3 separate regions of the Homo sapiens genome follow, and all the other regions are linked to region 1. The links are contacts of gene promoters, found by promoter capture Hi-C in human tissues and cell types (Jung and others, 2019). All regions are on one chromosome and are shown on one strand. Each heading gives the region's core, a stretch centred on a gene start or on the middle of the fragment in contact. The rest is flanking DNA. Distances are from core to core; before and after follow the strand shown. Region 1 holds the start of METAP1D (methionyl aminopeptidase type 1D, mitochondrial). Region 2 has its middle 25 kb from the start of DYNC1I2. Region 3 has its middle 74 kb from the start of CYBRD1.

What was found. The method cuts DNA at HindIII sites, captures the fragments that hold promoters and counts their contacts. A contact is called where the count stands out against the background at its distance.
Region 2: a contact is called between a fragment that was not itself captured here and the fragment with the promoter of METAP1D in region 1, in 1 of the 25 tissues and cell types used here (mesendoderm cells).
Region 3: a contact is called between a fragment that was not itself captured here and the fragment with the promoter of METAP1D in region 1, in 1 of the 25 tissues and cell types used here (liver).

What each region holds. Positions count from the first base shown.
Region 1 is chr2:171,997,885-172,002,019 of GRCh38, reverse strand. METAP1D (methionyl aminopeptidase type 1D, mitochondrial) reads right to left here and starts at 2,067. Exons shown (of 10, transcript NM_199227.3): 1 at 2,011-2,067. The coding sequence starts at 2,050. LOC124905590 (a long non-coding RNA gene) reads left to right here and starts at 2,111. Exons shown (of 3, transcript XR_007087296.1): 1 at 2,111-2,341. RefSeq lists a silencer at 2,073-2,372. The HindIII fragment of the contact is 22,489 bases long and covers 1-4,135 here.
Region 2 is chr2:171,660,892-171,664,564 of GRCh38, reverse strand. No RefSeq gene overlaps it. Among named protein-coding and RNA genes, the nearest start is that of DYNC1I2, 25 kb to the left of the region's middle. The HindIII fragment of the contact is 6,967 bases long and covers 1-3,673 here.
Region 3 is chr2:171,594,046-171,597,944 of GRCh38, reverse strand. No RefSeq gene overlaps it. Among named protein-coding and RNA genes, the nearest start is that of CYBRD1, 74 kb to the right of the region's middle. The HindIII fragment of the contact is 6,784 bases long and covers 1-3,899 here.

The DNA.
Region 1 (4,135 bases), core at 818-3,317:
GTTCAGGCGATCCCTCCCACCTCCACCTCCCAAGTAGCTGGGATTACCAGCATGTGCCACCACACCTGGCTAATTTTTGTATTTTTAGTAGAGACAGGTTTCACCATGTTGGCCAGGCTGGTCTTGAACTCCTGGCCTCAAGTGATCTGCCCGCCTTGGCCTCCCAAAGTGCTGGGTAATATTACAGGCATTAGCCACCTTGCCAGGCCTGGCACCCAGATCTTGAGAGATGTAAATTGGCTGTCTTTTCACAAGGCTACACTCTCATGCTGATGTCCATTCCTTCATGCAACCAGTCCAAAATGCTCGCTACATCACCTTCCCCATACACATCTCTCCCCTCAAATCTTCCTGTGGCCCCTTTCTCATCTCCACTAACACTGAAATACTGAAGTCTATTCGATTACCAACCTTCTTCCTCTCTAAAAATATCTTCCTCTTCACTTCTTATTTTTTATTATTTTTATTTATTTTTTTTTTCTGAGACGGAGTCTCGCTCTGTCGCCCAGGCTAGAGTGTAGTGGTATGATCTCAGCTCACTGCAACCTCCACCTCCTGGGTTAAAGCAATTTTCCTACCTCAGTCTCCCGAGTAGCTGGGATTACAGGCATGCGCCACCACGCCCAGCTAATTGTGTATATTAGTAGAGACGGGGTTTCACCATGTTGGCCAGGCTGGTCTTGAACTTCTGACCTCAAGTGAGCCACCTGCCTCGGCCTCCCAAAGTGCTGGGTTTACAGGTGTGAGCCACCGTGCCCAGGCTCTCTTCACTTTTTGTACACACTCATCCTGCACTGTCTCTGCTGAACTTTACACACTGACTTCTATGGAGTGACCACGTCATGCAGTACCGAGAAATGAGTCTTAAAAAAAAAAATTAGAGTCATGTTCAAATGAGCAATCTGCCTCTTACCATTTATGCGACCTTAGTAATGTTACTTAACCTCTCTAGCCTTACTTTTCCCTTCTGCAAAGAGAAAATAATTCCTAACTCACTGGGTTTTTGTTTTTGTTTTTGAGACAGGGTCTGGCTCTATTGCCAAGTCTGGAGTTCAGTGGTACGATCACGGCTCACTGCAGCCTCTTGACCTCCCAGGCTCAAGCGATCCTACCACCTCAACCCCCAGAATAGCTGAGACTACAGGCATGTGTCACCACGCCCGACTAATTTTTAAAATTTTTTGTAGAGACGGGGTCTCATTCATTGAGTTTTAAAAGGAAGCAAGCATATGTAAGGCGCTTAACACAGTATCGTGTACTTAAAAGGCACTTAATAAACAGTAGCTGTTACTATGAAAATAATATTTACCTCACAAAACTGTTCCTACATGCCTGACGCTTAAGTAGCTCCTCAAAATATGATAGTTTTCCTCTTCCCCCGTCCTTGGAAAAACTTTCTAGTTCTTTCCAACAAAGATTCAGCACCTAGTTCAAATCCAACAAAGATTTCCCCAATTCTGCTGCAAAGGCATTTGTATATTTACTAAAATCTCAACACTCACGCAGGATAAAACCTACTTAGAACTACCCAGACATCCTTTCTTATCTTCTTAACTTTAAGTCACTGGAAGAAAACCATCACATTTTGCAAGTCCCCAAAAAGCATGCCTGCATAAAAGCTCTAGGGAAGGGAACCGGGTGTCCAGATGCATTTCAGAATTACCATAGGTTTCCTTGCTCGGCATACAGAATAAATGTTGGTTACACTAATGATACAACCGAAGTTGGGGAAAAAAACTTCAGACAATGGCCCGCAAATCTCAAGGAGTAATTGCGAAAAGATGCCACGTGGTGACGTGTTCTAGGCGGGTGATCAGTGAACAAATTTGTATGTGTGATCCTGTGGTGTGTGAATGTGTCATCGTGTGTGCCTGCGTGTGTTCGTAAACACTGAAAGTACAGTCGTGTGCGCCGAGAAGTCTGAGCGCGGGTGCGCATCCCTTTGGACCCGGGTGCGTACCTAGTGAGCAACCGTGCGAACCCTCACGGGGCTCTCCTCCACGCGCTTACCTCTGCGGACGAGCAGGTGGACGCCACTGGGCGCCGCCATGTTGGCGTCGGTCACGTGGCCGCGAGCACTCGCTCGCCGCCCCGCCCGCTGGAGCCGGCCAGTCGCAGCCCTGCCGAAGCCCTGAGGCGTCGAGGCCGCCCGAGGGGAGCGCGCGTGCGCGCGCGGGGCTGACTGCGGGAGCCCTGGCTGGGAAGCGGCTAGGGCACCCGGGCAAGCAGCAGAACCCGCGGCCGGCTGAGTCCTCTCCAGCCGCGAGAGGCGGGCTCCAGCCGCGGCTCGCGCGCTCGCTCTGAGCCCCCGCGCCCAGGTGGGATGGAAGAAGCCTGTCAGGTAAGCGTGGCATCCAATATTTATAGCATCAACATTTTGGTGCATGGAAACGTGAAGTTGGGCGGAAAAAATAAAGCACAATCTAGTGTTCAACATAGCACTTTGTATCGTCTGCCACTCTGTTGCAAATTATTCCCCTGGATTCAGTTGAAAGGTAAAATTTGGTTCAAAGTCACCAGCTCCCCTTTTGCTGTCCCAGAATCTACATTACTCAGCAGAGACTCCAGACAACACAGGATCTGTGTGTCGCTGCAAAATCTATTCTAGGTACCCCAGTGGGTATGTTCAGGAGACTTCTCTTTCTCCAAGGACGCCTTCTGCTTGGCAGTATTAACTGGAGTCTTAATCCTAAATTTGGAGTTTAAGTATAAAAGGATGACGCCTGCCAATTGCATTGCCAAGAGAAGAAGCCTACAGAAGGCCAATTGTGAATCAGATGAGGGAGCTGATGTATGCCTACTGATGACGGTGCCCATTTTTACCAAATTCACTGTCTCTCTTACCTGTGTTCTGGGGTAGATGCCATCCTGTCATGGACCAGGTGTTATTCATCTTAGTAGCCTCCGTGCCCGGCACAGAACCCGATACCCGAGGAATGTCAGGTGAAGCAATTGAACACTGCATGAAACCAGTCAAACTGAGAATGTAACCGTTTCCAGACTTTAAATGCAGTGAAGATTGATTAGGATTCTCAGTGAATGTGTGTGATGTCTTCTAATTAATTTTTAAGCACTACACACTCAGTGAATAATCTAGACAATTCAGAACAATTCAGAAATAAGGAACAAGTGCAAGCCCCTTCCTCGCCCTCTGTACATACCATAGTCCCACTCCCCAGTTAACCACCGTGTGCTCAATTGAGATCTTTGCCTTTTACACACAGGCAAATGTAAGTATTTTAAATAGAATCATATGACTTGCTTTTTCCATTCCAGTCATCATAGGCATCAAATCTTAGAACACTTAGTTCAGACTTATTCTTTTTAATGACTATATAATCTTGATATTTTTACTTTTAAAGAGAGTGAATGTTGGCATTTCATTAGAGGACACATGCTATAATTCTGGAAAACCTGGTTTTGGATGCTTTTGGGTCACCTTGAAAGATAAAGAGAAGTAATGCTTTCCATCAGGGTAAATAAGATGCACAAGAATGAGAATAAAATGTACTCCTACCTTTTGCAAACTCATTTCAATTCCAGGGAGAGCATTTTTGAATGTGGCAAATCTGTCCTCTGTGTAACTGAGGCCAGCAATCTGAGTGCAGCAAAGGAGCCTGAGAGTTAGCTGGCCACAGAGTCTTAAGCAGTGTACAGAAAAAAGAAATCTAGACATCCCTATTCCTTAAGGCATCAAGCCTAGTTTCAAACCCATCTGAAATAGAACACATGTTCATGTGACTTAACTCAGCCAACCCTTGGAAAATAAATGAATGCTTTATTCCCCTACAACTAAAAGGAAAAGGAAACACTATGAGGACCCAGGTGGCACCAGCAGTAGTGGAATCCAGTGAGGAAATCCTCAATAAGTTCGGCATGGAATGTAGATATCTGGGATGAGCTAGAAATGAAGCAAATATGAACTTGCACAGGTGATAGCTCATCCACTGACCCTGGATCTGGCTTCTCTCATACACATCCTTCTCACCGCAGAAGGGTTAAAAGCTGCCAGCACATGTCCGCCAAAACCATCAACTTATGGGATATAAGCTGGGTGTGGTGGCTCATGCCTGTAATCCCAGCACTTTGGGAGGCGAACGCAGGCAGATCACTTGAGGTCAGGAATTCGAGACCA
Region 2 (3,673 bases), core at 497-2,996, 340 kb after region 1:
AGCTATTTAAACATTTCAAATTTTAAAAAGTACTGATTTTATTTCCAACATGCTTTATTATCTGCGAACTACTTACAAAGAAAAGGGCTAGTACAAATTATGTGCATATTTATGACATTTTGGGGCTATTCTGTAAAGCTGGGTTATTTTTTAGGAGGAACTCCTTGACAATGATTATTGTTAAGCCTAGGATTCAAGTGATGAGGGACATTATTAGATTTCCTCTGGAGGTCTGCATATAAAAAATTAAGACCCTTAACTACCGACATGATCGAAGCAGTTTTGCTAGATGAAGAGGGCCCAATCAATCAATTATTTATTCAAAATCTTACTTCTTATTTTTCTACACACTGAGCAGGGCAGAAAAATATGAGATTCAGATCTTGCCCAAAAGGAGTTTACAACTGAAATGGAGAAACACCCCCAGCCCCATATATACAACAATCAGATAAAAGTCCCATACTCTACCTGATGAAGGCAGCTATGGGATGAACTCCCAGTTTTCCCATTTGTAGTACAGGGAATTTGGGCTGGCTGGATAATTCCTTGGTTCTGGCAGTGCTTTAACCTTCTGAAATCCTGTGGTGCGTACTTCTAACACTGAAAGTCTGTCATTATTTCTTCTCCACTTATCCATTTTAATAAGGTTAAAATACAGACCTTAAATAACACAGAAAATCCAGAACCTAGGCAAGTCCTGATAGATCAGACTACTCAAGTGATGTATTTTTTAGGTACCTTTATTGGGGGCAAACTGCACATCACTGCAGAAAAAAGCTTATGTTAGGTTGGGATTTATCAAAACAAAAGATAACTTCTAGGATAAATTGTGAGTTCCTCTCTTAAACCTTTAAGATCTACAACTAACAAATGAGGCTCAGGATGGTTAGTTTGAGGCACGAGAAGATCCTGATTTACAAAAGATTCAAATATGATCACTGTGCCATACTTGTGAAAGAAAGCACATGGCACACAGTAGGTGCTCAATAAATGTTTATTGAATGAAATAAAATGAATGAGTGAATGAATAAAGGAGTGAGTGAATGAATGAATTATTTTCATCTAAGTGTTTCGGGCTGGGTTCCCTGCAAAGCTGAGTCAGAAGGCACTGACCAGGAGGACCAGGGAGAGGAGGAAGGGGAGGATGAAGGCCAAGGAGAAGTTGAGCCTGGTGCAGTCCTAATGAAGGCCTCAGCTCACCATAGTGAGAGTTCTGGAACTGGAGTAGTTCTGAAGTATAGCTCCAAGCTGGTATAGCTCCAAGTTGGTATAGCTCCAAGCTGGCCTTTGTACCCATTTTGATCAGTGTTAGCTATGAGCTCCCCATAGAAGGAACCCTGCCATGGACAAAGCAGCTTCTTTCAGCTGAGGCAATCCCCAAAGAAGGCTAACAGCTAAGACTTCCTTCTGGCAGCTCTCCCAGGAGTCCAGGGAATAAGTCTGCAATGGATTGAATGGTGGCCCCCCAAAAGATATGTCCCCATTGTAACCCCCAAAACCTGTGAATGTGACCTCATTTGGAAAAAGGATCTTTGTAGATGTAAATAAGGACCCCGAGAAGAGATCATCCTGGATTACCTGGGGGTTCCCTAAATCCAATGACAAGTGTCCCTATAAGAGATAGAAGAGGAGACTACCCAGAGACACAGAGGAAAAGGCCATGTGAAGACAGAGGCAGAGACTGGAGTCATGCAGCCACAAGCCAAGAAATGCCTGGAGCCATGAGAAGCTAGAAGAAACATAGAGGATTCTCCTCTAAAGCCTTCAGAGAAAGCACGGCCCTGCCTACACATTGATTTCACACTTTTGGCCTTCATGGCTATGAAAAAATAAGCCCATGTTGTTTCAGGCCATTCAGTTTGTGGTAATTTTTGTGGCAGCCCTAGGAAACTAACACAAAGTCCTTCTTCCTGACGGGCATCTGGGTAACTTATCACAGTGTCCACGAAAGATTCAGTTTAATGGGATTTCTGGTTAAAGCTATGAAAACTCAGAAATCTTTCTTTTGGAATATTTCAATTCGATTAAGTTTTTTTGTGTGTGTGTGTGAGGGGTACTGCTCAAAAGAAGTGATAAAAAAATGGACACTAGTAATCTTAACAATCATTATTCGTACCCATAGAATTAATCCAGACTCCGAGGTTGGTATCTGTTCTCATTGTAAAATGACCTAATTAACTGACAGGACCCCCACAGAATTCCTGAAGAGGAAGGCTTAATTGGTATTCTTTGAGAAAGACCTACCCTACTTACTTTACATCTTACCTAAAAATGGTATTTTTGCTGTAGTATATCATATTTCCAAAAAGAACTATTTCTTGGTTTGAAGGTAGCAGCCATACATTTATAGATTTTTACCCAGAGTAATCCAAATTACACACATTATGTGACTGTAATTGCTTATAAACTATGTATGCTATAATTTAATTGTATTTTGAATAAGTGATTTGCATTTTGTAAGGAGCATTTGGTATTTAGCCACTAAGTCACTGGGAGAAAAGAAATCATAATGATATGGAAGGTTTTAAAATATTTACATTTCAACTAAGTAAAGATGGGAACATCCCAGGTTTTTCTTACAGAGAATTAAAGTAATCTTTACCATCCAGAAATAATGCCCCATCAAGAAAATTACATTTGTGCTATTTGAAAGGAGAGGGAGGATATCTATGAAACATAAAGGACAGAATTGAAGGTGGAAAATCAGCATAGCTTATTTGTGAAAAGGCTCTCGTTCCCGTGAAATTTTGATGTATTCTTTACATCCTCAAATTGTTTCCCTTCATTGTTGAGTGTCACAAGGCAGAGAAATCTGGAAGTACCACGCCGTGAATGGGACTGAATTCGTTTCAAAAATATTTCAAAATAGGTAATTACGAACAGATAATTGAAATTCTTATTTAGCAATCAGTATTATTTCAAATGACTGCAAGATTCTTTTTTTCACATCTAGGCAGTACTAACTGGTTACATCAAACACACACAAAAATGTTATATCTGGGAATGTTAAAAACATTGATTAAAATAAAAATCCTGATACCTGGGCTTCAGGCCAATTTTGTAATGCTTTTAAATCAAAGGTGGTCTTACTGATGGTATAGGAAAGGAAAAAGAAAGTGAATATAGCAGGAAGGAACAAAGAGAGAATGACAGGGAGAGGAAGAGATGGGAGAAAGGAAGACTGGGGAGAGGGGAGGAGTGGAATCGAATGAAAACCACAGACAGACAAACATTCAAGTAGCAGAGATTTTCAGTCTTAAACTCTTCTAGAGAATAAACAGATTAAGAGCATGACTTAACTCATTTTTGAAGCTAGTATAGCCTTAATACCAAAAGCAAGCAAGGGCAGTATAAGAAGGAAAATTTACAGGGCAGTTTTTCTCATGAATATAGGTGTACAAATCACAGAAAAAGTATAGGCAACCCAACCCGGGTGTAGTGGTGCAGCCTGTAGTGGGAGACCGAGGCGGAAGGATCTCTTGAGCCCAGGAGTTCGAGGCTGGAGTGAGCTATAATGATGCCACTGCACTACAGCCTGGGCAACAGAGTGAGACCCCATCCAAACAAACAAACAAACAAAAATTTGGCAGCCTGAATCCAGCAATGTATAAAAAAGATAATAAGCCATGATGAGGTTAGTTTTATTTCAGGAAGTCAGTTAGTTTAACATCAG
Region 3 (3,899 bases), core at 887-3,386, 400 kb after region 1:
TAGGCCTGATTTTTTTGCTGTTATATCTTTTTTAGTCTCCATGTGAGAATGTTTGAAGCATAGAAGTAAATGGTTAAGACAGACAGGTGCGGACCAGGGAACAGGCTGGCATGTTTGGGAGATGGCATGCACAGCATCTGGCCACTCTTTAGGTGCTCATTAGTAAAATGTATGTGTCTTTCAAATAATTACTATCTTGTTAATAGGAAGTTTTAATTCAACTGAATAAATTCAATTCAATAAATTTTCAGAACAATTTGATAAATGTCTCATGAAGCCAATGTATAATAAAGTATTTTATCATTTGAGCACTTGATCTGTGCATAACACTCCCCTGGAGTCTGTGGATGATCCAAAAGAAAAAATAGGGAAAACTCCTAAAAAAATTATCTGGCCTTGTTAGAGAGGTAGGATTTATATGTATAGAATAATTATAGGAAATGACTAGAGGATTTCTGAGGATGGTTTAAAAAAAAATAAAAAGGAGAGTTGAAAAGGGACTTACAAAAAAAAAGGTAGCCCAAGGTTTTGCTCTAATCTAATGTTGTTGATAATGACAGTGTAAGATCTCAGAAAATGATAACCCAAAATGAAGACCTCAGAAGCAGCTCTCTCTGACCTTCTTCTCGCCTCCTGTCACTGGCCTCTCATTCTCCCCCAAGGCTAGCTACTGAAGAAACTCTTTGGCAAGGTGCATCTCAGAAACCAAAATCCATTTCCCCTAAAGCCAGCCATAAAACCTAAACATATTATTCTAACTCCACTCCTCCACCCACATCACCTTTCTGTGTAAAAACTGGCCATAAAGAAGCAATTTGACCTAGTTTGTCTGATTGTAGGTCATAAGATCTCCCCATTCCAGAGAGGGTCCAGCCCCATACCCAAGAGGAAGGAAGGCTGCACAGAGGCCAAGAAGAACCTAAATAGAGGCCAGGTGTGTTGGCTCACACCCGTAATCCCAACATTTTGGGAGGCCAAGGTGGACGGATCACCTGAGGTTGGGAGTTTGAGACCTGATGAAACCCATCTCTACTAAAAATACAAAAATTAGCTGGGTGTGGTGGTGCGCACCTATAATCCCAGCTCCTTGGGAGGCTGAGACAGGAGACTCACTTGAACCCAGGAGGCAGAGGTTGCAGTGAGTGGAGATCACACCACTGCACTCCAGCCTGGGTGACAGAGTGAGACCCCATCTCAAAAAATAATAATAATAAATTAAACATAAATAAATAATAAATAAATAATAGACAGGCCTTCTTGGGTTTCCCCACTCAGTCTATTATAGCTCATAGCCTTTCCGTCCACATTTTGGTGAACCTAAGCATGAAAGTAGACAGTTTCATCCGTATCTTTGGGTCTTCATTCCGAAGGCTCCTGTGTCATGTAAAACTATGGTCAAATACATTCATATGCCTTTTCTCCTATTACTCTGCCTTTTGTCAGTTGATTTTTGCAAACCTTTAGGGGCCACGGGGAAGTTTTCCCTTGGCTCTTATAACAGCTAACACAGGGCTTAGTACACAGCCAGCCTTTGTATGAGGCACTCACACTTTACCTCATTTAGGCTCATATTCTTGGGCAGGAAAATCGAGATCATAGTGGCCTGTATATTTTTCTCCCATATTTTAACTGTAGACACCAGGAATATCACTCCTCAAGCTTGCCTCACTCAACCTGAGCTGGTCTTTGCACACATACACGTGCCTGTGAGGAGGTGGTGGGGGAGTATGGGGAGACTGGGAAGATGTAATGGAAGCAAGACTCACCCAAAGGAAGCCCTTGGGCTAACTCACTATGGTGAGACTTGGTGTGAACTGGTGAGCTGAGCCAATGTACTTTTTTCTCTAGGGAAACTGATTTGCAAATACAGAAGGAATTATCTGCCTGGAAGAGGAGAGAGAAGGGAGCAAAGGCATAAAGAGCAAGAAGCTGAATCACATTAATGGCTAAACGCCAGCAGAAAGCTCCTGTGACTCAACCTGACTCTCCATTCTGATTTTTCCAAGGTCTAGTTATTTAGATTTTTCAAGTCCTCTTTGCACATTTATTCTTTTATAGCTAGCATGAATTTCAGAGTCTTAGGACTCAGATATGCAAAAATGTTTTTCTAATTCAAACTGTAGCATTTAGTTTAGACTCAGTCTCTTCTGGGTAAGTAAACATCAACTATGAAATTCTCCCTTCCTTCTTCTCCTTCCTTTCTCCCTGGAGAGATATGAATTCCCAGGTGGAACACAATGGGAGTGTCCATGGAGTGCTGGCATTAGGAGGAGCTCTGGTCTGAGCTTTGCTCACCCTCCCCAAGGGACCCACATGGTCCTAAATGATCTTTCTACCACATGCCTGGCTGATGGCTCTGACCCCAACAGCTCTGAGGCTGGTCCCATACTCTGCCTCTTCCTCCTTCTGTGGCCTAAATAGTCACCTCCACTTTCTCTTGGAGGGTCAAGGGCTCTTGGTTTTGTTCCCTGGACCATGCTGGCATTCACTGGCTTTTGAGAGGATTTCCCATTTTATGGAAAATCTAGAATCTGCCTGGACCTGTCCCTCAGCCACCACAGTCTGTTCAGGAACTGTTGAAGGTGGCACTTAAAATATATATATTTTAAATTTTTAACTTTTATATTAGATTCAGGGGTACATGTACAGGTTTGTTATATAGCTAGACTCACATCATGGGGGTTTGTTGTACGGATCATTTCATCTCCCAGGTATCAAGCCTAGTACTCAAGTGTCATTTTCTTTCTTTCTTTTTTTTTTTTTTTTTTTTTTTTTTTTTGATGGAGTCTTGCTCCGTCGCCCGGCTGGAGTGCATTGGAGTGATCTTGGCTCACTGCAACCTCCAACTCCTGGGTTCAAGCGATTCTCCTGCCTCAGCCTCCTGAGTAGATGGGATTACAGGCACGTGCCACCATGCCTGGCTAATTTTTGTATTTTTAGTAGAGATGGGGTTTCGCCATGTTGGTCAGGCTGCTCTCGAACTCCCAACCTTGTGATCCGCCCGCTTGGCCTACCATAGAGCTGAGATTACAGGCATGAGCCACTGCTCCCAGCTCAAGTGTTATTTTCTCTGCCGTTTTCCTCCTCCCATCCTCCACCCCCAAGTAGACCCCACTGTCTGTTGTTCCCTTCCTTGTGTCCACGTGTTCTCATCATTCAACTCCCACTTATAAGTGAGAACATGTGGTTTTTGGTTTTCTGTTCCTGTGTTAGTTTGCTAAGAATAATAGCCTCCAGCTCCATCCATGTTCCTGCAAAAGACATTTTTTATGGCTGTGTAGTATTCCATGGTATATATGGACCACATTTTCTTTATCCAATTGGATGCAGCACTTTCTTTCTTTCTTTCTTTTTTTTTTTTTTTTTTTTGAGACAGAATCTCGCTCTGTCACTAAGGCTGGACTGCAGTGGCATGATCTCGGCTCACTGCAAGCTCCGCCTCCCGGGTTCAAGCAATTCTCCCTGCCTCAGCCTCCCAAGTAGCTGGGATTACAGGCACCCACCACCACGCCTGGCTAATTTTTGTATTATTTAGTAGAGATGGGATTTTACCATGTTGGCCAGGCTGGTCCTGTACTCCTGACCTCAGGTGATCCACCCGCCTCAGCCTCCCAAAGTGCTGGGATCACAAGCGTGAGCCACCGTGCCTGGCAATGCAGCACTTTTCTATGAAACCTGTGCTCTCCCCAACTGCAACACTGGGGATTGGGCACAGCCTTTCTGTCTGGGTCATCACTTCCATGAGTCTTTTCAAAAGATGTGCTTTACTGTTTCTTCATTTTCTAGTTCATTATTTTTTTCCCTTATGATTCCCATCCTTCCACTTTCTTTAGGTTTATCCTATTGTTCTGTTCCTATTAGCTAAATATTTGGATGCTCTTTTAACGACATATTTGACT